Regions from separate parts of the Homo sapiens genome. Here regions 1, 2, 3, 4 and 5 are each linked to region 6. Evidence: promoter capture Hi-C in 16 types of primary human blood cells and fetal thymus (Javierre and others, 2016). All regions are on one chromosome and are shown on one strand. The core of a region is centred on a gene start or on the middle of the fragment in contact, and the rest is flanking DNA. Distances in the headings are between cores, read along the strand shown.

Region 1 (3,678 bases), core at 1,041-3,540, 930 kb after region 6:
AAAATGGATTATTGCCATTTAAAGATACATAATAAAATATTTACAGCTGAAATTAAGTGTTGTTATTTACTTAAAATAGTATGTGCGTGGAGGAGTGTTATATTTATGGCTGTATAAATAAAACATGATTGGCCACAGGTTGGTAACTATCAAAGCTGTGTGATAGGAATAGAATGAGGGTTAAACATATTTTTCTGTATATTTTTGTATGTTTCAGATTTCTCATTAAAAAAAAATAAAGGTTAAAAATTCCAAATTCTCAATGAGACAAGAATTTTAGAGGTCACAGCTGAAAATAAAGCCAGCACCCCTCCCAAGTGATGTAGGAAAATAGCCTGTTCCATGGCAAGAGTGACACCGTCTTGAAACAAAATCACCACTGATACAGTTTCGATGCTGTATCTTCTGAATCTCATGTTGAAATGCAGTCCCCAGTGTTGGACCTGCTGGGTGGTGGTTAGACCATGGGGGTGGATCCCTCATGGATTGGTGCTGTCCTCCCAATAATGAGTTATGAGATCTGGTTGTTTGCGTGTGGCACCTCCCCACCACTCTCTCTCTCTTGCTCCTGCTCTTGCCATGTGATGTGCCTGCTCCTGCTTCATCAATCACCATGACTAAAAGCTTCCTGACGCCTTCCCAGAAGCCGAGCAGATGCCTGTGCTCTGCTTGTACAGACTGCAGAACCATGAGCCAATTGAACCTCTTTTCTTCATAAATTAGCTATCCTCAGGTATTTTTTTCTTTTTTTCAGACAAGGTCTCACTCTGTTGTCCAGGCAGGAGTGCAGTGGTGCGATCATGGCTCACTACAGCCCCTACCTCCTGAGCTCAGGTGATCCTCCCACCTCAGCCTCCCAGGTAGCTAGAACTGACTATAGGTGCGCACCACCAGGCCCAGCTAGTGTGTGTGTGCATGTGGGTAGACGGGGTTTAACCATGTTGCCTAGGCTGGTCTCCAACTCCTGGGCTCAAGCAATCTGCCTGCCTTAGCCTCCCAAAATGCTGGGATTACAGGTGTGAGCCACCTCGCCTGGCCAGGTATTTCTTTAGAGCAATGCAAGGACAAGACTATAGGCGCTCACCACAATGACCAGCGTGTGTGTGTGTGTGTGTGTGTGTGTGTGTGTGTGTGTGTGTGTGTGTGTAGATGGGGTTTCACCATGTTACCTAGGCTGGTCTCCAACTCCTGGGCTCAAGCAATCTGCCTGCCTCAGCCTCCAAAAATGCTAGGATTACAGGCGTGAGCCACCTTGCCTGGCAAGAATAGCCTAATACAGCCATGACGACCAAGGAATGCATCATAGACAATCCCATAAAAGAAACAATGCCAGCCGGGCACAGTGCCTCACACCTGTAATTCCAACACTTTTAGAGGCCAAGGCAGGTAGATCACTTGAGCTTAGGAGTTCAAGACCAGCCTGGCCAACATGGCAAAATTCCATCTCTACTAAAAATACAAAAATTAGCTGGGTGTGGTGGTGCACACCTGTAGTCCCAGACACTCAGGAGGCTGAGGCAGAAGAATCGCTGGAACCCGGGAGGCAGAGGTTGCAATGAGCCAAGATCACGCCTCTGCAGTCCAGCCCGGGTGACAGAGTGAGACTGTCTCAAAAAAATAAATAAATAAAAATTTAAAAAGTAAAGATGCTTATCTAACCTCCCTTTGGTCACAAGTTTTGCAAGAGTTTTCTGCAAGATGGTCTAAGACATGCACATGTCTTTACTCTAAAAGCTTGCTATATAAAGAATACTTTCTGGAGGATGAATGCAGGGATCCACTGTCTCTTGGCTGCTTGAGACATCGCTTCTATTTGTAAGTCTCTATTAAATGTTTCTTTCTGAGAAACTGGATTTGTCAGTCTCTTTCTTTGGCTGCTCAGCTCCCTCAGCAGTTGGGAGTAGGTGTGCACAGACCTGCTCACCAACAGAACAAGTGACAATGAAACTTATGCCTTGGAACCTCAATTTTGTTCAAGTTACTTCTGTACATTTTGGCAAGGTTTGAAGGAAAGGAGTAACAACCAAATTATCTCTCAATAAGAAAAATCCAAAACTGGTCAGGCGTAGTGGCTCACACCTGTAATCCCAGCACTCCAAGGAGGGCAGATCACTTGAGGTCAGGAGTTGGAGACCAGCCTGGCCAACACGGAAAAACCCTGTCTCTACTAAAAATACAAAAATTAGCAGGACGTGGTGGCATGTGCCTGTAATCCCAGCTATTCAGGAGGCTGAGGCACGAGAATTGCTTGAACCTGGGAGGTGGAGGTTGCAGTGAGCTGAAATCACATCACTGCACTCCAGCCTGAGCGACAGAGCAAGATGTCTCAAGAAAAAAGAAAAAGAAACCTATCTTCATCTGCCTGCTCTTTGGGGAAAGAAGTCTGGGTTTCAGCCAAGTATGTGATTGGCACCAGGCTGGTTGAGATGACTGATGATTAGACAGCTGTTGAGAGGCTGACATTTACAAAGGGAAAAGGAAATATAAAATCAGGCATCTTCTAACCATCTCCTTTTTCAATTTTTAATAAAAAGCTGCTGATGATCACAAACTATGATGCCTATGGCAGGGCCTCTGACCAGTGGTGTGCACCACCTGCACCAGTTGACATGGCACCCCCACCCACTGTCTCACTGGATTCTGGCCAGGGCCCACAATCCCCAAGAGAAAGGGCAGTGCTGGGGAGTGGCTCAGGCTTCTCTCCAGGTCTCTTTCTAACACTGCACACCATGTCTGTGGAGTCTTCCTCTTTCAGATATTATTGGGATTTATTTTTAAGCTATTTCAACAGTAGTGCTAATTTGACAAGCACCCGAGAGAGGCCTGACTGATTTGTGGTTAACAAGCAAGCTTTATTTGTGATGGATACTCAGCGTGGGTGCTGGTCCTTATTGAGGTCTGTGGCCTCATCCAGATGTGGTCTACACTCCGCTCCTCCTGGGAGCCAGGTGTTTTCCCAGGCTGTACCCTCAGTCACTTTGGAAAGCCAGCTTTCGTTTCTAATCTCCATGATGCACCACCAGAACTTTCCTCAAATACCCAGTAGCATTATGTACATCTAGCACCCAGAATTTTAGTTTTGTTTTTTTTTTGAGATGGAGTCTTGCTCTGTCGCCCACATTGGAGTGCAGTGGTACCATCTCGGCTCGCTGCAACCTCCACCTCCTGGGTTCAAGCAATTCTCCTGCCTCAGCCTCCTGAGTAGCTGGGATTACAGGTGTGCGCCACCACACCCAGCTAATTTTTGTATTTTTAGTAAAGACAGGGTTTTGCCAGGCTGGTCTCAAACACCTGACCTCGTGATCCACCTGCCTCAGCATTCCAAAGTGCTGGGATTGCAGGCATGAGCCCCCGCGCCAGGCCTACAATCTTAGTTTCTAAATATCATTCTCCAACATAAAGAACCAAGGCTCCTTGGAGAAATGGCAGATAGCAGGACTGGGGAAAAACAAGTACTAGATGAGCGTGGTACACTTTCTAAAACCAGAAATAAAGACATGCTCTGAAAAACGACAGAGGTTTGTCAAAAAGCACACAGAGTGTATTCTCCCAAAGCCCATATCTGGGACAACTTGAGCGACAAAATAAATGACACTGTGCATTATAGCCCATAGAGTAAATGTCCATGCATCTATACTAATATAAATAAATAATTGATTAAATAAATACATGGGGAAG
Region 2 (3,568 bases), core at 1,029-3,528, 660 kb before region 6:
AGGGCAGCAACAACCCATGAATCCCTATTTTGTCTCCCAGAGACAGGAAGCATAGATTATAAATTATTTCAGAATGTTTTCTCCACACTCAAAAGAGCCAAAACAAAACAGAATCCCATGACAGCAACAGACTTGCTCTCAGCCCTGTGCTGGGTTGCCCCAAGTGTGGGGAAAAATAGCAGTAGCTGTGAGAAGATGGGGTCCAGCATGCCCTGTAGGAAGTTCCCAAGCCTCAGGGCAGGACAGTGTAGGCCCTAGTTCTGGCTGTGTGCTGCTGAAGCCTCATGCCACAGGCACTGGCACCAAAAGCAAGAGTCCTCAGGGTAGCCACATGGAGGAAGCCAGGCTCCTTCTGCACCACCAAGGTAGAGGAGTTGAACAGGCAGAGAAGAGGCCATTCCAGACCAAGAGGGGAACACTGCAGAGGTGCTAAGGTGGGAATCACCCCTTGCAGGTGGAGAAGGTGAGATCACCAGCCCAAGTGGAGCAGAGAGCATTTCAGGGCATAGTGGGAGAGTAAGCCGCACATCATGGGGCCCAGTCATGACCGAGGGTGGGGGGCGGCTACCTGGTCCCAGCAAGGTGGAAAATAATATCCATAGAGCACTCAAGTGCCTTGATAAACATGCTAATTTTTTTCCTTTTTTTCTTTTCTTTTTCTTTTCTTTTTTTTTCTTTTTTTTTTCTCAGACAAAGTCTCTGTTGCCCAGGCTGTAGTGCAGTGGCGTGATTTCCACTTACTGCAACCTCCGCCTCCCCAGTTCAAGCGATTCTCATGTCTCAGCCTCCCGAGTAGCTGGGACTACAGGTGCCTGCCACCACACTTGGCTAATTTTTTTTGTATTTCTTTGGAGAGACGGGTTTCACTGCGTTGGCCAGGCTGGTCTGGAACTCCTAGCCTCAAATGATCCACCGGCCTTGGCCTCCTAAAGTGCTGGGATTATAGGAGTGAACCACTGCACCTGGCCAAACATGCTATTTTAGGTAGAGTATCTGACTAATCTGTTGGATAAATCAGGGGTAGGGTGAGGAGAGAAGAGAAGCTAAAAGGCCAGTGCAGAAGCTTCTGTTGGTGCCGGGGACAGGGAGGAGAGTGTAGCAGGGCCTGGGCTGACATAGACATGCACAGAAGCCAGGCTTCCGGAGCCCATCTTGCACCCATCTCCTCAGCCCAGCAGATGGCAACACTGCTCTTCAGAAATGGAGGTGGCCAGCCAGCATGGGGATGCCGTCAGGGGGTGCAGGGCTCTCCCATTTTTGTGCGGTGTGGGGTACACATAAGCTCATCCACCCCAGGTTATTGCTGCGTGTGGATCAGCTCTTTGCTTCTGGCTTGTGATCACCAAACATTCCACAAGCTCTGGTTCTGCAACCTTATTCCCACCTATGGCTGTGCTCTACCTGGTCTGTGGGTCTGCTGTTGGCAGGGAGGCCTCACTGAGATTGGACCTTGTACTGCCAGGTTCATCCCTGAGTCCCCCCGATGGCTCATCTCTCAGGGACGATTTGAAGAGGCAGAGGTGATCATCCGCAAGGCTGCCAAAGCCAATGGGATTGTTGTGCCTTCCACTATCTTTGACCCGAGTGAGGTAAGCACCATGTGGGTGTGGGTGAGAGGGACAGACTGACCGTGATTTGAGAGCAGCAGCACCCAGCCCTGAAGTCCTCCCTGCTCACAGCAGCCCAGCCCTCTCTCCGCCCAAGCCCCAACTGCCCATTCCCCCCATCCCCCCACTCCCCACCCCCACACGGGCCCTGTTAACACTCAGAAGTTGAGGAATAGGTTACAGCTGCCTCACTCTTTTCACCACGGGTTTCAGATTTTCATTTTTTACTTCCTTTCTAGGCAATCATATATTTTAACCATTACTTCTAACAATAAATACTCTTTTTGAGTAATAGGCCTTTCATAAAGTCAGCATTTGGGAAAATCATTGTTTCTTATACCTAAGGTGGCTTGTCACCTTACAAAGCTAACCCCAAACGTAAAATGTAAAGCACAAATAGATTTGGAGTTAGAAGTATTTCATCTCTTGAGTATTAGCAATTATTCATTAAAAAGAAAAAAAAAGTGTTTAGTCTCTTTCTGCCCTCCAATGGTTAATTATTGCATATCATCTTGGAGTCAGGTCCTTTTTGATGTCCACCTCTTCCCCCTACCCCACCCCTCCCGTCAGCCCTGTTCTCACACACCATGACTCATTTCTTGGCTCTACCTAGTTCCTGGTTCTTGCTTTTCCTTCCCGTTCCCTCTCCTACCATCTCTGTAGCAGGCAGTTTTCCTTGGTCTCGTGACTATGAGAGGTTAGAAGCTGTAAATGCTGCCTGGTGGGGTTCTGGAATGTGTCTGTGGTCTGACTGGAAGATGAGGGGTTGGGTGTGGGAACAGCCACAAGCAGCCCTGCTGAAGTGTGAGAGGCAGGCATGGTTGGGCTTGGAAAAGAGGGAACAGTTATTGTAGACAGCGGAGGCCAATGGCCACTGCCAGCCCTGCAGACTTCCCAGTGAGTGGTGGCCCAGCAGCCACTGTCAGCATGCACCAGAAAGGGGTCCTGTGCGCAAAGGTCAGGCAGGAGTGTGGCAGAGGGCTTTTAAGTTAGGTGGTTTTGGGGGCTTTTAAGTGAGGGGTCAATCTGGGTGAATGCATAAGCCCCACTGGCATCTTTGAGGAAATGAGGCTATTTCAGGGGATACTTTCAGTCCAAAGTTGACCTTTTGTTGAACTTCTAACTCTGGAAAAACAAGCTCCAAACCTGGGTTTGCTTAAGAAAGCAACATCAGTGTGTTTAGACGTGTGGTTTATTAATGGCCTTGGCTGTGCTGAATTTCATAGGAAGTCACTCTGGGTGAAGCTCAGGTCAATTTTCCTGTTTTTCTATTTGAATTCTTTTTCCCTGGAAGCACACCAGTAACTACATAGTATAAGGACTCAAAACATTAACTTTTAAAAAATATCAGACCAATAAACCACACAGCCAGGTACTCTCTCTGACCCAGAGGGCAGGGAGCCAGGCTTCGGGAGGAATACTTAGAGGCCTCCTTGGAATGTGGCCACCGACAGGAATATGTGGGGGTGCAGTGAGGAAGCTGTCAGCCTGGGCCTCTGTCTTCCTGTACCCTTGAGGGACTGGTCACTTACTTTTCCTCATTTTCATTCACTCTGATTTGTTACTGACAAGGCCTAGGGAAGTTTTCACAGCCTAAAACACAGTCAGTATACTTACTGTTCTTAGAAACGTAACACTCCCCGACGCTGAGATGCAGACAGCTAAGATGCCAGGGATTCAAGTATGTTATTGTGTGCTCTGAGTCTCTGACCACCTCTTCTTCCCATACACTTATGATGTTGTTCCTGCAGTTACAAGACCTAAGTTCCAAGAAGCAGCAGTCCCACAACATTCTGGATCTGCTTCGAACCTGGAATATCCGGATGGTCACCATCATGTCCATAATGCTGTGGTATGTAAAAGAGACCTGCCTGAGGCTTCCAGACAAAGCTTCTTGAAGTGGCCATTGGGCCTCTTGTTTACAGACATGCCTCAGACAAAATTCAAAGCCTATGTCATCA
Region 3 (3,637 bases), core at 236-2,735, 560 kb before region 6:
TGTCCCGTTATCACTTCCCTTTTTGAGCTGCATCTGAAGCTTTGGTCCCTCCAGAAGTACATGGGTTAAAACAGTGGCAGGAAAACCCAAAGAGTTACACTCACTTTATTAATCCAGATGAGCCCCGGGATTTGGTTGGAATTAATCTGCATCTCTAGCCAGGGTCTCATGCGCATCCGAGTGATGGGCATGTTGGCTGTAAAGAGAACACAGAGGCTCCAGTCTGGAATCTGTTGAACAGTACCTGGGCAGTGACCTGCCCCACCCGAGGTCACTTAGTTACCCTCCCCTCACCTCAGCCAGCTGCTAGGTACTACACTCAGTGCGGAGGGGAGCTGCGCTGGAATAAAACTGCTCTCCAAATTTTTTCAGCATCTTAGGCAAAAATGCTTTTGCCCCTTCCTTCAGCCCCTCCCAGCCAGTCTCTGGAGGAGACAGGCATGCAAGTGATGGCTTCAGGATTCATATGCAGGAAAAGAGACAAAATGCACAGATACCCTAATTTCAGAACTTTTCGCTCAAAATTCAAATCCTTTGGGAAGGGAGGGACTTCTTTTGCTTGATGCCAAGAAGAAATTCCCTTGACTTGAGTTGTAACCACTAGCTAGCAAAGGGCTAGCCGTCACCCTGAACAGCCCCCTCCCGCCCCCCTGAATCCATTCTACGCCTTCCTGACAGCCACAGCGCCCACAACGCTAAGACCAGGACGCTAACCCTTCCGGCCCGGTTTCCCCTCCTCTGGAGAAGTGGCCCAAGGAACACCTGTGGCGCCTCTTCCCGCAGTCTCCGTAGGTCACGATTCCCTCCAGCCACCTGGGCAGTAAGCCAGCCCTTGCCACCAGCACAGGGAGCCCAAAACCTGTCGCCTGGGCGCGGAGCTGGGACCGCCGAAAGCCGGGAGCACTGGGCGCCCACGCGTGGGCTGACACTCGGTCCCCGGCACGGCGTGTGGATGCGCGGGACGAACATAGCGGGCCACCTACAGGCCCCTGGCGGCTGCGCGCACGCAGATCTGCGAAAGCTGCCGGGCGCCGGCAGCCTCGTCCGGGTGGGCGGTCCACGCCGCGTCCCGCCCTCCCCGCGCCGCGGCCCGCGGCTCGCAGCTCCTCCGGCGCCCCCCGGAGCCCGCGCGGAGGCCCGGGCAACGCCGCGCGCCGGCGAGTCTCCAGCCTGGAGCTTTCGACCCCCCACTTCCTGGTGCCCCGCGCGCCTTTTATTCGACGCCGCCGGTGCCCCGCGCCTCAAAGGCGTACTCACCTCTGCTGCAGGAGCGATTCGGCGGTCGCGCGCGAGGGTCCCGGCGACGCAGGGGCTGCAGTGAGGGCGCGCGGAGCGCGACTCCGAGTGGAAGAGGGAAGAAGGCAGAGGTTGCCGGGTTCTTAAGGCCGCCGGGCACGGCCGGCGTGGACTGGGCACGGCTCCGGGTGGCCTCGGTTCGGCGGGGCTCGGGCGCACGTCTTGCCTCGACTAAGGAGTGGCGAGCTCTGCCAGGGCAGCGGCGCCACCGAGCAATCCAAACACTTAGCGGGATTCCCCAGCCCTGGCCGGCCCCGCCCCCGGACAGCCGCGCGGGCGCCCATTGGCCGGCTGCGTGCCGTCATTTCGGGGAAATCAGGCTGTTGTAGAGCTAGCGGCGAAGGGGAAGTACAGGGCGGCTGCTCCGCCCCACCCTCTCCGGCCGGGCGCCACCGCCCCGGGGCCACCGCGGGCCCGCCCCGAGCGCTCCCAATCCACCCCTGCTCCGGCTTGCCCGGAGGAGGGCTGCCCGGGACAGCCCAGCGCCCCTGGCCCCAGCCTGTCCTCTCACTCCGCCTTGTCCCAGCCGGCTGGCTCCTGGGGCCATCTTTTCACCCTCCTGGCGGGGCGGGGGCGGGGGTATATCTCCCGAACGCAGGTGAGGGGATCGCCCGGGCACTTGCCGCCCTCTCCAGTGGGAACACTGGGCCGAATCTCCCGACTGGCAGCCTGGCTCCTCAAGCTTGCCAGTGGGATATCAAGAAGGGAGGGTTTCAGTCCTAGCACTACCCCTGTTTTTAGGGGTGACCCCCTCCCTCCAGGTCACTCACCTGCCCTGGGGAAGTGAAGAAGGCAGAAAGCCTACCCTGCCCCGTGTGCTGTCTGGGGCTGCTGGACCAGGGGAAATCCCAACTTGGCCGCTGCTGGCACAGCCCCCAAGGGACGCAGGACCTCTGTTTTTCAACCATAAAATAATAGTAGCCCTACCTTGATGGTTTGCTGTGATGGGAAGAGATTGTAAAGCACTATGCTCCACTCGGGCAACAGACGCTGAGTAGTTTTCAAGGTCGCCGTTGCAGGGTCTAATAGTGACCAGGATGACACCCCACCCCTTTTCGGTCTGCCTCCCTGGGACTCCCCCTGGCTGGCTTTAGGGAACAGAGGAGGAGAAGGGGTTCAGAGAAGCCCAGACGGCTGAGTGAGGGTAGGGGTGGGCTAGCTCTGATCCCTCCTAGCACTCTTGCCTCAGGCCGCCTCCAGAGCCTCCCTGTGGCCCGCGTATGGGAGTTCCGCAATGGAAGCATTGCTGTCATCTCTGAGTCCCCAGGGCTTGGCCCAGAGAGGTTCTGGGCAGCATGGAGGAATTAGCTCAGGGCTGATCAACGCCATGGGGCTAGCCAAAGGGTTGGGGAGCCCAGGTCCCATGCTCCTTGGTAAGGCCCCTACTTAACTCTCGCGCACAACTAGTCCCCGCCCCACGTATAGTCCTAGAGACTTGACTGGGTGTTCATTTTCCATCCAAAACTCTGGCCCAGGAGGCTTCTTCCTTCATCTCCCTAAAGCTCCTGCAGAAGTAAGTTACTCTCCCAGGCGTGTCATTTCCTTCACCCCAGCTCTCCCTCCAGGGCAGCACCCCATTTTGCAGGCTATAAATAGACACACCCATGCAACATTCGACTTGCCAGTCACTCTACCTCCCTCCCGTAGAGGAAATGCATGGGTTAATCCCATTCTGGCGCATTGCAATCTGAGTGCTGTGACCAATGCCAAACCTGGTTCCCAGGATACCAGCAGGAATGGGCAAAACTGTCTACCAGATAGAGGTGGGTCAGGAGCTAGGAGAGGAAAGGAGGTAGGAGAAACTGAGGAAGGAACCTAACTGAGTGTTAAGCAAAGTGGAGGGCAATGACACTCTGGAATGGAAAGGTGGGTTTTGGGGTACTTTAAGTGACAAATGGAAGTGGGGACTTGCTACAGGGACCAAGACCTTCTGAGCAAGAATAAGAGAAAACAAGTGACCCCTGAGTCGTGGGATCCTTTCTTGGTACAGCAAATAGATGCTTGTCCTTCCCCTGAGAACCTGACACATCCACTGGAAAATTCAGGATGAGATTAGGGAAAGGAAGTTTGCATCTTTGTGGTCTGATAAGTTGACCACAGTGACCCTGTGAAGGCAACAGGACACTATAAAAAATGCTTTAAAACAAAAACTTAATTTTAATTCACAGATACAGGTATAAATATACCCGTATATGCATATGTATATTTAGCCATAATGAGCATCTTTCCATGTCATGAAATGTACTTATGCAATGTCATTTGTAATAGGTATACATTATTCTTTCACAAGGATAAATAAAAATTTACCCAATTAATCCCCTATTGTAGGACAGTTAGGTTA
Region 4 (3,727 bases), core at 1,170-3,669, 920 kb after region 6:
ACCACAAATCCCACACCACATCCCACATAGCATCTATGCACCTACTGCACTCCCTCAAGAGCCCATGCCATGGTTCTCAGCAAAACGCCACTCATTCTTCTAAGGATACCCCCAGTATCACCCTATTCATTGTTTAACTCCAATACCTAGCACCAAGTAGGAGCAGAATGTCTTAGTCAAGCAGTAAAATCTTGGAAGTAATACACAAATACAGCACAAGAAAAAACAAATAATTGACCTGAAACATGTAATACAAAGGCTATCAACTTACTCAAACTCCTTCAAATCAGAGAAGTTGATTAAGTCAGATATGAAGAGTATTCAGAACAAAGGTACAACTCTGACTTTACGGATTTAACTGTTGACCTTCTATGAGCATATAAATAAGACTTCTAAATCTTCCCTTTCCTAATTGATATTACCTCTCTACTTGAAGCTTAACATTTTAAAAATAAAGCTTAGGCCGGACACGGTGGCTCACGCCTGTAACCCTAGCACTTTGGGAGGCCAGGGCAAGTGGATCGCTTAAGCACAGGAATTCAAGACCAGCCTGGCCAACATGGCAAAACCCCATCTCTACAAAAATACAAAAATCAGCTGAGCACGGTGGCAGGCACCTGTGGTCCCAGCTATTCAGGGGGCTGAAGTGGGAGGACTGCTTGAGCCCAGGAGGCGGAAGTTGCAATGGGCCAAGTTTGTGCTACTGCACTCCAGCCTGGGCGACAGAGCAAAACCCTGTCTCAAACAAACAAACAAAAAAGGCTGGGCACAGTGGCTCAGGCCTGTAATCCCAGCACTTTGGGAGGCCAAGGCGGGCGGATCACGAGGTCAGGAGATTGAGACCATCCTGGATAACACGGTGAAACCCCGTCTCTACTAAAAATACAAAAACTAGCCAGGTGTGGTGCGCGCCTGTAGTCCCAGCATACTCGGGAGGCTGAGGCAGAAGAATCACTTGAAACCGGGAGGCGGAGGTTGCAATGAGCCGAGATCACGCCACTGCACTCCAGCCTCGCGACAGACTCAAAAAAAAAACAAAAAACAAAACTTTATAAATTTAATTCTCCCCTTCTACTGGTCCCTTTTTAAAAACTGCCCTAAAATAAAACTATATCAGCATTTCTTAAACTTAAGAATGCAGAGGACCCCGAGAACTCATTCACACACTGGTTTGAGAAACAATGCCTTAAAAATGAAATGCATTATACATTAAGTTTAGGTGATCATTTGGGGACAATATAATGGCAAATGTAGAGAACCAGGCATTTTTGAAATGGCATGACCAAGAATTAGTCACCCAGTGATCCAAACTGCTTATGTTAATTTTTTAGACTTGATCAAAACAAAAACATAAAACAAAAATTCTTACAGACTGACGAGCATATAACCAAGCATTGACAGTTTTTAAAACCTAATATGGAACAAATTTAAATAAATCTAATGTGGTAACCTTCTACCTTTGTAAACTCACTTGAAATTTGGAACTCAACACATTCTAGACTAATTTTCTTATTACAGGAGTGACTACTTTGAAATTATAAGGTATGCTTACAAAAAATACTTATATCCCAAGCTACACTGTAGTGCAGTGGAGCTGCTCGCCTATTAAAGACATGTATGTTCGTTTTCATTTAGCTTCTTTTCAGGACAGAATAATCTGAATTTATGACATTTTAAACTGGTGTATGTAAAGACTTAATTTAAAAGATAAAGATTCTCTAAAATGTCTCAGTATAGTTAGAAAAATATTTATAGGGCTCTAACAAATAAAAGCAGAGACTAAAGGACACTTAACAGTCCACATTCTGCCTCACTTCTTGCCCAATTTTCAACCATCTCTTAGGGGAAAAAAGCTGTTTCTGAAACTACAGTTGCCAGATATATATCCCTTAAGCATTCCAGCAGGAAATATAAATGTTTGTGTTTTATTTTTCTTAGATGATTAAATGGCCAAAACAATTAAGCTACTTAAGTACTTTAGGAACGGGAATATCTGCATCAACCAGGGAAATCCTCATTACATTTCACTAATGATAAAAGGGCCTTAGGAAATGGACAGCAGTCCTTCCTCAGGGACTGCAAAGACTTCTGGGAGGGCGTCCAGTTAGCAACACTGAAATGTTGCTGAGGAAACATAAGTATGTACCCACAGTACTGTCGCAGAGGAATGTAGGGCTGGACAGGCCCTGCTGGCAAGAAAGAAAACACTATACCAGGTCACACTGTTTTGCAGCTGAAAATTCAAATTTAGGGAGAAACGCAGGACTGTGTCTTGGCCTGAAAGAAAAATGGGACTACTAAACAAAATACCGTTTAATCCTTACAAGTTCTTAATAGTGGATTTTTCCCACCAAGTATCAGGCACTGGTTTACAGATTTCCTAATTTCTCAATAAAAGCCTTCAATCTCTTGATTTCACCATGCAACATTTGCAAGAAATGAAATATTTTATCAATCAAATCCTACAGATGCATTAAAACGAGGCAGGGTTATCCTGGTTAACTCGGAACACAGGGAAGAGGAATCATGATCTCCCTTGTCTCCAAACTCCTCTCTGCCTCCCAAGCCTTCAGGGGCCCAACGCCCCAGTACTCTGAATCTTTATCAAACACCAGAACCTCCCAGTCTTCAAATATGCACCAGTACCCTAAGACAGCTCTTTCCCTTTCACTTTCCCTCTCGGAAATATTCCATTGGTTCAGTCCAGTCACTGGATTACTGCCCCTGCCCGCCTCGGTCTTTACCACTGACCTCTCCCATTCTGGAAAACCCCCACCTTTCCTTGGTCCTGCAAGATTCCTGAGTCCCCCAAACTCAGGACCCTTTCCAGACACCACACCCCCAGCCCCGGCCACCTCCTCAGCCCCTGTCGCCACCCTCTCTTCCAGAGTCTCCTAACTTTCCGATCCAAGAAATTTTGGAGACCCCACCACCGCCATTCCTTGCGGCAGCCCATTCTTCAACGATCTCTAGGCGCTAACACCACTCCTCCCTCCCCGCCCATCTACACACCCTGCTGCCTGCTCCCTGGGTTCCTGCATCTCTCAGGGACCCCGCTTCTCAGGCCCCTTGGAGACCCTACCACCTTGGACCCCTTCAGACACCATACCCTCCGTCCTCAGGCCCGCGGAGACCCTGACCCAACCAGACACCGCCGTCTGCTCCTGACACTTGGAAGCGCCCTTTCCCTGGCCCGGCCTGTCTCCTGCCCTGCGCCCGAGCCCTCCTAGCCTTCCTAAGCCCACACTGCCGCCCCCCTTTACCACTGGATAGAGCGGCGGACACAAGCAGGAGCGCCAAGACCAGCGGCCGCGCCAACCCCACAAGGGCTTGGATGGCCGACCCGGGCAGCAGTTTCGCTTGTGCTGGCCCCCTCATCCTCTTCGGGACGGCAGCGGCCATAACGGACTCGGCTGGGAGCCTGCGCTGTTGCTAGGCTCTACGCCATGAGGTCAGACGCCGCGGCCCTCGGCACATACGTCCCAGCGTGGTGACGTCGAAGCCTGGAGACGTGCTCTGGAAACCGGAATAAGAAGGAAGGATTGCAGGGAGGAGGGAGTTGCCGCTAGGCGAAAGTGGGGACCGCCACACAGTTGGCTGCGGATTAAAGGTAGGGTGTGACGTGCTGAAGAGGGCCAAAGCGAGCCCCTCCCTGCCGCCTGCATGATTGGGTACTATACAGCCAAAAATAGCGTTTTTAGCCATTTTAAAAAGGAAGATCCAGCTG
Region 5 (3,611 bases), core at 964-3,463, 640 kb before region 6:
TGACTATGGGGCTCCAAACTGCATGGCTACAAGAAGAGAATGTGTTCATCAGGTGGCCTCGAGTCCAGTGTTCCCGACAGTCTTGCTTCTAACAGGAATGGATAAGCTTCAGGTTTTGGGGTCAGATGGCCTTGATTCAAACCCTGCCACTAACATACATAGTAACTATGTGACCTTGGGATTTCCTTCATCTTTTTTTCTCCCAAATGAAAAATAAATAGATTATAATATACCACATGATAGTAGGGAGAAATAATGAGGTAATAATGCATGTAATGCATTTAGCATAGCACTTCTCTAGCAAATAGTGAATGAAATCAGTCAGTTGTCATTCTGACTTTATGCAACAGTGCTAATCGACTCTGGTACACTGGAAGTCAGATGAGATTTTTGGCCCCACAAAGTCAAGGACCAAACCTGGACCTTGGGAAGTTGCCAAGATGAAAAACATCAGGCCGGCCTTGACCTCCTGATGCTCTCTGTTCACATGTGTGATGTCTATAAAAGGTAACCAGGATTTGGCTTATCTGCTTACATCTCTTCCTGTCTTTTCCTGATCTTCATCTTCCCAAACATAGTTTTTATGCAGAAGCAGATTTAACTCTACTTTGCTATCTTGGAGTCAAGAATTGTCCTATAAGGAGGAAGAGGCTCCAAGGCTTGCCTTTTTTGTTTTTTCTTTTTCCTTCATACTACAGACTAAAAGTAGCATCTTCTGGACAGAGAAACAGGCTGTTGTTTTTCTAAGGTCATCATTTGGCCTGCCCCACTTTCCCACCTGCTCTTGAGGGAACTATTGCAAGGACACATACAAGCCCCTACATCAGTCACAGACCAGGGCCTCCATCTTGCAGGGAATGTGCCCAAATTACAAACAGGTAAACCAAAGTGACTCTGGGCAGATTTAATAGCTCATTTTGGTTTCTTGTTCCAGTTATAACAGACTGCTCTGTGTTTGCTCTATGGCAAAAACTTTTATGTTTGCTTTGCAACAAACGTACAGACAGGGCAAACTGTGTTTGGAGTATGGTGTCTTACCAATGTTTTCTAAAAGCAAGTGAATAGAAATGCTTGCAAAAGTATTTTCAGACCTCAGTGGCCAGCGCTGAACACCGCTGTAGGAATGTCCATCAAACGTTGTGGCCATGCTCCACTCTAACAAAAACCTGGTTCCGTGGCATAATTGTGGGGGCTAATTGTCAGGCTAAGTTTCAGACACCTTCCAAAAAAAATTGCAGGGCTTCCTCAGTCTTTAAACTCCAGATAATATTGTCCAAACTTTGACAACTAACCTGTTATCATGGAGATAGCTCCAAGTTGATGGACTGGCCATTAGAGAATGTCTATCAAGCATCCAGGTAAATGACTTGGTTGCTGCCCTCAAGGAACCCACTTAGAGGCTGTCAGAAAATTTTAAGTATTTTCTTCCTTCTATTGTTCATTCCTAAAATTCTGGCAGTAGGTATGATTATTATTATTCCCATCCCACAGGGGAAGTAATTAAGTCTAACTACTTGAATATTTTGCCCCAAATCACTGACAGTAAGAGACGGCCAGACACTGAAACCTGGAATCTCTAAATGTTTAGATATTGATGGGCACCGCTTAGACCAGGGAGTCCAAACCATAGGCTTGCTGTTCCAGTTTCTCTTATCGGATGAAGGGACCCCCATTTCACCGACGTCATTGACTTTTGGGTTCTCCGCTGACCCCAGATGAGATGCCTGGTACCTCATGGTCAAGTCCCCTCCAACGGGGACTCCTCAGAGGCTTGGTCCCAGTTGCTCAGGCTGCCATCTGCCTCCTCAGGCCAGAGCCCGAGGCGCCGCCAGCGGTCAGGTCCCGGGCCGGCTGCCAGCCACAGGCCCAAGTAAACGCTGAATGAAGGGCAGATGGAGGAACCTGTCCCGGTCGGCCGAAGCGCCGCGGGCGCCTTTCCACTTACGGCGGGCCTGCCCAGCCTCCCGCCCAGCCCGGGCCCGGGTCCCGCCGAGGCAGGTGTGCGTGGCGGACTAGCTCTCGGGCACTCGGCTGGCCCAGCTCCACCCCGAACGCCACCGGGCCAGGCCACGCGCAGACCCGAGCCCGGGGCCCCCGCCTCTGGCTGCCGGCCCGCGCCCGCCGCGCGCCCCGCGTTCACTGCGCGCTCGGCCCCGGTCCCGCCTCCCGGAGGGTTTCGCTTTCGCTTTCCTGCCGATGTCGTTGAGGAAAATGAAAGCGGTCGTGGCCAGGACTGGCGCAGCTGCCGTTTCAGGCGAGGGGCGCAGAATGCAGCGGCCGCCAGCCTGGAGCGCGGGCCCTGGGGCCGCAACCCGCGCCGGGCGAGGTAAGCACAGCCCCTTCGCGGCCGCCTCGCGGGCTCCTCCTTGCGGACCCGGCGGGCCCGACGCCAGGCGTTTGACCCGGGCAGGGTCAGGGGTTCTGCCGTGGGGGCGGGGAGGGCCTGAGAAGCGGCACCCTTGGGTTTCGTGGCTTTGAGCCTCCAGGCCAGGCTGGAAGACCTGGGAGGCCTCAGACAAGCGTGCCAAGGGGCTAGCAGCCCGGGGTCGAGCTGGAACCGTGGCAAGTCGGGCCACCTGAGCACGCCTTTCCCTTTTGTAGAGCACCGACCTCCCTGGGTGTTGGTAAAAATCAAAAGTGGGAGGGTGTACGTAAAATGCTGAACAGAATGCCTAACCTGAGCTCATAATCTACTCCCTCTGACCTGTCAGACTCATTTTTCCCACTGGGCCCCACCCCATACCTCATGTAGTTTGCTTAAGTTTCCTAGATCTGGTGCACCTGGGGGCACTTGGAGTGCCTTCCAAGTGTTCCTTGACCGAGCAAGCTGGCAGCTCATCTCCCTTGATCACGGGCATGGAGAGCAACTAGGCCAGGATGTGGCCCCCTTGCCCTGGCCCTGTCCATGTGAAGTCAGGGCCTTACTCTGCTGGGGCCCCCATCCCGGGGCTAGCATAGATGTCAGGGATAGGTGCACTCACAGACCGAGTCCTTCCCAGACCAGGAAATTTCCAGTCCACTGCATCTGCCAGCAGAAGCATGAAAGATGCGTGCCACCTTGTCTTTGCCCTTCGTCAAGTATAGCCAACTCATTCTTGGTATGCAGGAAGGGGGTTCCACCCCAGGGCTGTGGAAACAGCCCCTGCCCTTAGGGCGTTCCCATCCCCTGAAGAGAGAAAATATGTATTCAAGTTACCCATCAGGCAGGTTGTGTAGAACAAGGACAGGTGAGTGAAAGAGCTAAGAGCTGAGAGTAAAGTGACTAAATCATCAGAAACTTTACATTTAAGTTATGACAGGTTTTGCAGGCCAATACCAAGAATCCCCTTTAACTCAATTTTTGTCTCAATAATAATGAATTCAGCCTAATCACACAGATCTGATCATACGGCCCATTACTGAAACAAAACTTGAATGATCTTTACTTTGAGAAAACCATCTGAATTTGACAAAAGATGGTCTAAGTTCCTAAGTTTCAAAACATGGAGTCCGCCGCTGCCCTACCTCAGCAGGATGGTGTTGAGTACTGATTGCTTTTAGAAAATGCTGCTCTTGCCGGGCACGGTGGCTCACGCCTGTAATCCCAGCACTTCAGGAGGCCGAGGCGGGCT
Region 6 (3,381 bases), core at 507-3,006:
AAGGTTCATTCATGCTGTAGCATTTATCAGACTTTCATTCCTTTGTCTTTTCAAAGCTGTATAATGTACTGTTACGCGTATACACTAAATTTAGAAAACTCATTCATCTGTCAATGGACATGTGGATTGTTTCCTCCTTTTAGCTACCGTGAATAAACTACTATGAACATGGGTATACAATGTACAAATATGTCCCTGCTCTCGTTTTTCCAAAGGCTGTTCCTGGCTGCCTCTACTCTTTTTATTCCCAGTACCCTTTTACAGGTAGCACCTGGTACTTGTCTTTGAAGAATTAACAGGTTTTAGTTAGGCAAAATGTGAGAACAGTGTGGCCATTTGCAAGTTTTAATGGTAATCAACCCGGGTTTGGGGTTGCTCCTATAGAGTGAAGTACCTCCGGAGGTGGCAGGAAATGCAGGTATTTAAAGGGAAGGGCATACCAGGGCAATGTAATTTCTTCTTTGCTCATTCACTTTTAAAATGGCTGAAGGGCAGGTACTCTAGCCTTGAGACCTTCAACTCATGATGTACCCTCCAGCAACGGAGAATTTCTTTTTAGTCCTTAAACTATGGTCTCTATTGCTAGTTTTCCAAACTTGAACACAGCCTTTTCCTTTTCTGGGAAGTTGTCCTAGTCTCCACCATTCTGTGCATATAGCACTCGCCATTCTGTACTGGGGTCACCTTTACTTGTTTAGCCACCCTCATGATGGGGATGATCCAGGTTTTGCAGAGGTGAAACTTATATACCATTGGGGGGCCCTACAAATACACAAAACAAATAATTAAAACGACAAATCACAACACATTACTAGAGACTTGGAGATTCAGATTCTCCTTAGATCTCTCTGGGTAATTTATTAGAAATGCTTACATAGATTTGCTTCCTAATCTCAAGCTGGCTTCCCCTCTCCACAACTCAGCAACTATCTATTCTCCCAGGAGGCCATACAAGCGAGGGGCCCTGAAGCTTAACATTTATTAACTTCATGTAAAGGTCTGAGCGGACCTTTCAGGCCAGGCAGCGTGTCACTTGCCTGTGTTCCTTGTTAGGGCCTACCACCGGGTAGGTGCTTGGAATGTGCTGTGGATTAAAGGCTTAAATCCTGCGGGCCCCTCAATCTGATCTAAGGACATGAGTGGCTTAGAGAACGGCGCAACAAGGCTAAGCGAAAGAAAACAAAGCGGTGTGGCTGGGAGTGGGCTCCTTCCCTCCGCTGGTGAGGGTGCGATCTTAGACTCTTGAGAGAACCCGACATAAAGGCCGCGTTCCAATGGCGGCCTTCTCCCCTACCGGCCAACCTGCCCCGAAAAGAGCAGAAGGCACCCTGCGGGATCTGCAGATCAGCTTGCGTCTCATTCTGGGGCACCGACACGGTGGAATGCAAGACACCCCACTACCGGAAGTTTCTTTGATGTTAAGAAAAACGGCGGAAGTAGGCCGCAGCGCTTCCTCAGTATAGTGCCTCGAGCTGGCTCGCCTACTTTCTACGGTAAAGGGAGGTGCTCCACATCTCTATGCAGCTGTGCAGCGCCGCAGGTTCCATGCGCAGGCTCGGTTGGCTAAATGCGCTTTCCAGCCATCTTTCAGCCACCCAGTCCTTTCCCAGGTTCTCGAGCCAGGACGTGACGTATTCAGACGTACTGGGGGCGGGGCCTCAAGGGGAAAAGCGCCTGAGCCGGGATATCGCGAGAACATCCCGTTCTTTCGTAGCTCTGGTGCTGCGGCTCCGCTCTCGTCGCAACGAGATCTTTCGAGATCTTCTCCGCCCCCGCTACCGGCGCCTCCTCTGCGGCCACTGAGCCGGAGCCGGCCTGAGCAGCGCTCTCGGTTGCAGTACCCACTGGAAGGACTTAGGCGCTCGCGTGGACACCGCAAGCCCCTCAGTAGCCTCGGCCCAAGAGGCCTGCTTTCCACTCGCTAGCCCCGCCGGGGGTCCGTGTCCTGTCTCGGTGGCCGGACCCGGGCCCGAGCCCGAGCAGTAGCCGGCGCCATGTCGGTGGTGGGCATAGACCTGGGCTTCCAGAGCTGCTACGTCGCTGTGGCCCGCGCCGGCGGCATCGAGACTATCGCTAATGAGTATAGCGACCGCTGCACGCCGTAAGTGTGGGCCGGGCCTGCCGCGTGCACTGGGGTTAGGAGATAATGCTTGTTCCAGTCTGGGACCCTCGCTGCTTGGGGAACGCGGGCCGAGGAGTCGCCTCCGTTCCGAGCCGAGGTCCCGGTAGGTCAGGGACCCCCAGTAGGTATTAGGACACTAGGGGCCGCGGCCCACTATGAGCGTGGGTGTGTGCTAAGCGCGAGGGCCTTTTCCCCGGTGGCCCGTCGGCCGAAGAAAGGCTTCTGGCCGGTACTCGGACCAGCGGAGGGCACGGGTAGGAACTGGAAGGACTGCAGGCCTAGGATGTAAACGGATCGCGGTCCTTTTCTTGAGGGCAGAGACCAGGCCCAGGTCGTACTGAGTCTTTTGAGTCCAACAGAAAGCTCAGAACTTTGCACACAGCAGGCGCTTAATAATAGTTGAATCGAACGGGTTCTGGGGCTTGCCAGCCGCGAGACCGTGGAGCGGTCAGCGTCCCACGTGAGTGGGGGCGGGGCAGCGCCCGGAAGAGAGCGAGCTGGAGCAGCCTCAGGCACGGGTTCCGGATGGACTCGGGGTCTTGAGATTGGGTTGGCACGGATAGGAATTTAATAAAATCGGTGCTCTTATGATAACTTTGCAATCGCTTTTGTTTTCCACATTATTTCGGGATATTGTGCTATATTGGGTCACTCTCTGTTTTGTGCGCGTTAACCCCTCAATAGGGTTGCACTTTAACGATAATGCATTCTAACCAGTGTGTTGGCCACAATTGTTAGTGGCTCAAGGGCCCGCCTTGACTTCTAGAACCCATAGTAAGTTTTGGGACCAGCATAGACACAGTTCTAAAAAATGGTGGGTCACTCAGGTCTTTCACTGGTTACAGTGTCTGCCTTTTGAATACTTGTAGATACATTTTAATCCGTTGTCGTGTTCTTAGACAAAATCTTGTAAGAAGTTCTGTATTATTTGCCATTCAGGGTCTCTCTTCTTTTTTTTTTTTTTTTTTTCTTTTTTGAGACAGACAGGGTCTCACTCTGGCTGCCCAGGCTGGAGTGCAGTGGTGCGATCTTGGTTCACTGCAGCCTCGACCTCCCTGGCTCCTGGCTCAGGTGATTCTCCCACCTCAGCCTCCTGAGTAGCTGGCGTTGCAGGCGTGCGCCACCATGCTTGGCTAATTTTATTTATTTTTAGTAGAAATCGGGTTTCACTATGTCACTCAGGATGGTCTCGAACTTCTGGACTCAAGCAGTCCTCCAGCCTCGGCCTTCTGGAGTACTGGGCTTACAGGCATGAACCA

Evidence for each region. The method cuts DNA at HindIII sites, captures the fragments that hold promoters and counts their contacts. A CHiCAGO score of 5 or more calls a contact.
Region 1: a fragment that was not itself captured here is called in contact with the fragment with the promoter of HSPA4 in region 6 in 1 of 17 cell types (M1 macrophages); the score reaches 5.8 in M1 macrophages.
Region 2: a contact is called between a fragment that was not itself captured here and the fragment with the promoter of HSPA4 in region 6, in 1 of 17 cell types (fetal thymus). The highest score is 8.3, in fetal thymus.
Region 3: the fragment with the promoter of IRF1 here is called in contact with the fragment with the promoter of HSPA4 in region 6 in 1 of 17 cell types (fetal thymus); the score reaches 5.1 in fetal thymus.
Region 4: a fragment that was not itself captured here is called in contact with the fragment with the promoter of HSPA4 in region 6 in 1 of 17 cell types (naive CD8 T cells); the score reaches 5.6 in naive CD8 T cells.
Region 5: a contact is called between the fragment with the promoter of CARINH here and the fragment with the promoter of HSPA4 in region 6, in 1 of 17 cell types (fetal thymus). The highest score is 7.7, in fetal thymus.

Annotation. Positions count from the first base shown.
Region 1 is chr5:133,983,323-133,987,000 of GRCh38, forward strand. The region is part of intron 5 of VDAC1 (voltage dependent anion channel 1); the gene reads right to left. Among named protein-coding and RNA genes, the nearest start is that of C5orf15, 17 kb to the left of the region's middle. The HindIII fragment of the contact is 1,116 bases long and covers 1,733-2,848 here.
Region 2 is chr5:132,385,563-132,389,130 of GRCh38, forward strand. SLC22A5 (solute carrier family 22 member 5) reads left to right here. Exons shown (of 10, transcript NM_003060.4): 5 at 1,463-1,589; 6 at 3,359-3,459. Among named protein-coding and RNA genes, the nearest start is that of MIR3936HG, 17 kb to the left of the region's middle. RefSeq lists enhancers at 56-385, 879-928, 1,069-1,278. The HindIII fragment of the contact is 2,434 bases long and covers 1,062-3,495 here.
Region 3 is chr5:132,489,288-132,492,924 of GRCh38, forward strand. IRF1 (interferon regulatory factor 1) reads right to left here and starts at 1,486. Exons shown (of 10, transcript NM_002198.3): 1 at 1,258-1,486; 2 at 105-196. The coding sequence starts at 191. RefSeq lists silencers at 318-367, 898-1,177, 1,438-1,887 and enhancers at 359-1,006, 2,028-2,167, 2,301-2,946, 2,438-2,647, 2,688-2,737. The HindIII fragment of the contact is 1,939 bases long and covers 38-1,976 here.
Region 4 is chr5:133,965,183-133,968,909 of GRCh38, forward strand. C5orf15 (chromosome 5 open reading frame 15) reads right to left here and starts at 3,443. Exons shown (of 3, transcript NM_020199.3): 1 at 3,264-3,443. The coding sequence starts at 3,402. LOC105379183 (a long non-coding RNA gene) reads left to right here and starts at 3,507. Exons shown (of 2, transcript NR_134247.1): 1 at 3,507-3,610. RefSeq lists enhancers at 2,637-2,736, 3,367-3,586. The HindIII fragment of the contact is 3,928 bases long and covers 456-3,727 here.
Region 5 is chr5:132,408,716-132,412,326 of GRCh38, forward strand. It overlaps CARINH (colitis associated IRF1 antisense regulator of intestinal homeostasis), which reads left to right and starts at 2,214. Exons shown (of 4, transcript NR_161242.1): 1 at 2,214-2,326. RefSeq lists an enhancer at 1,563-1,612 and silencers at 1,853-2,152, 2,223-2,512. The HindIII fragment of the contact is 5,230 bases long and covers 105-3,611 here.
Region 6 is chr5:133,050,257-133,053,637 of GRCh38, forward strand. It overlaps HSPA4 (heat shock protein family A (Hsp70) member 4), which reads left to right and starts at 1,757. Exons shown (of 19, transcript NM_002154.4): 1 at 1,757-2,101. The coding sequence starts at 1,995. RefSeq lists enhancers at 1,044-2,006, 1,193-1,242, 1,313-1,362, 1,553-1,732, 2,971-3,381. The HindIII fragment of the contact is 9,846 bases long and covers 969-3,381 here.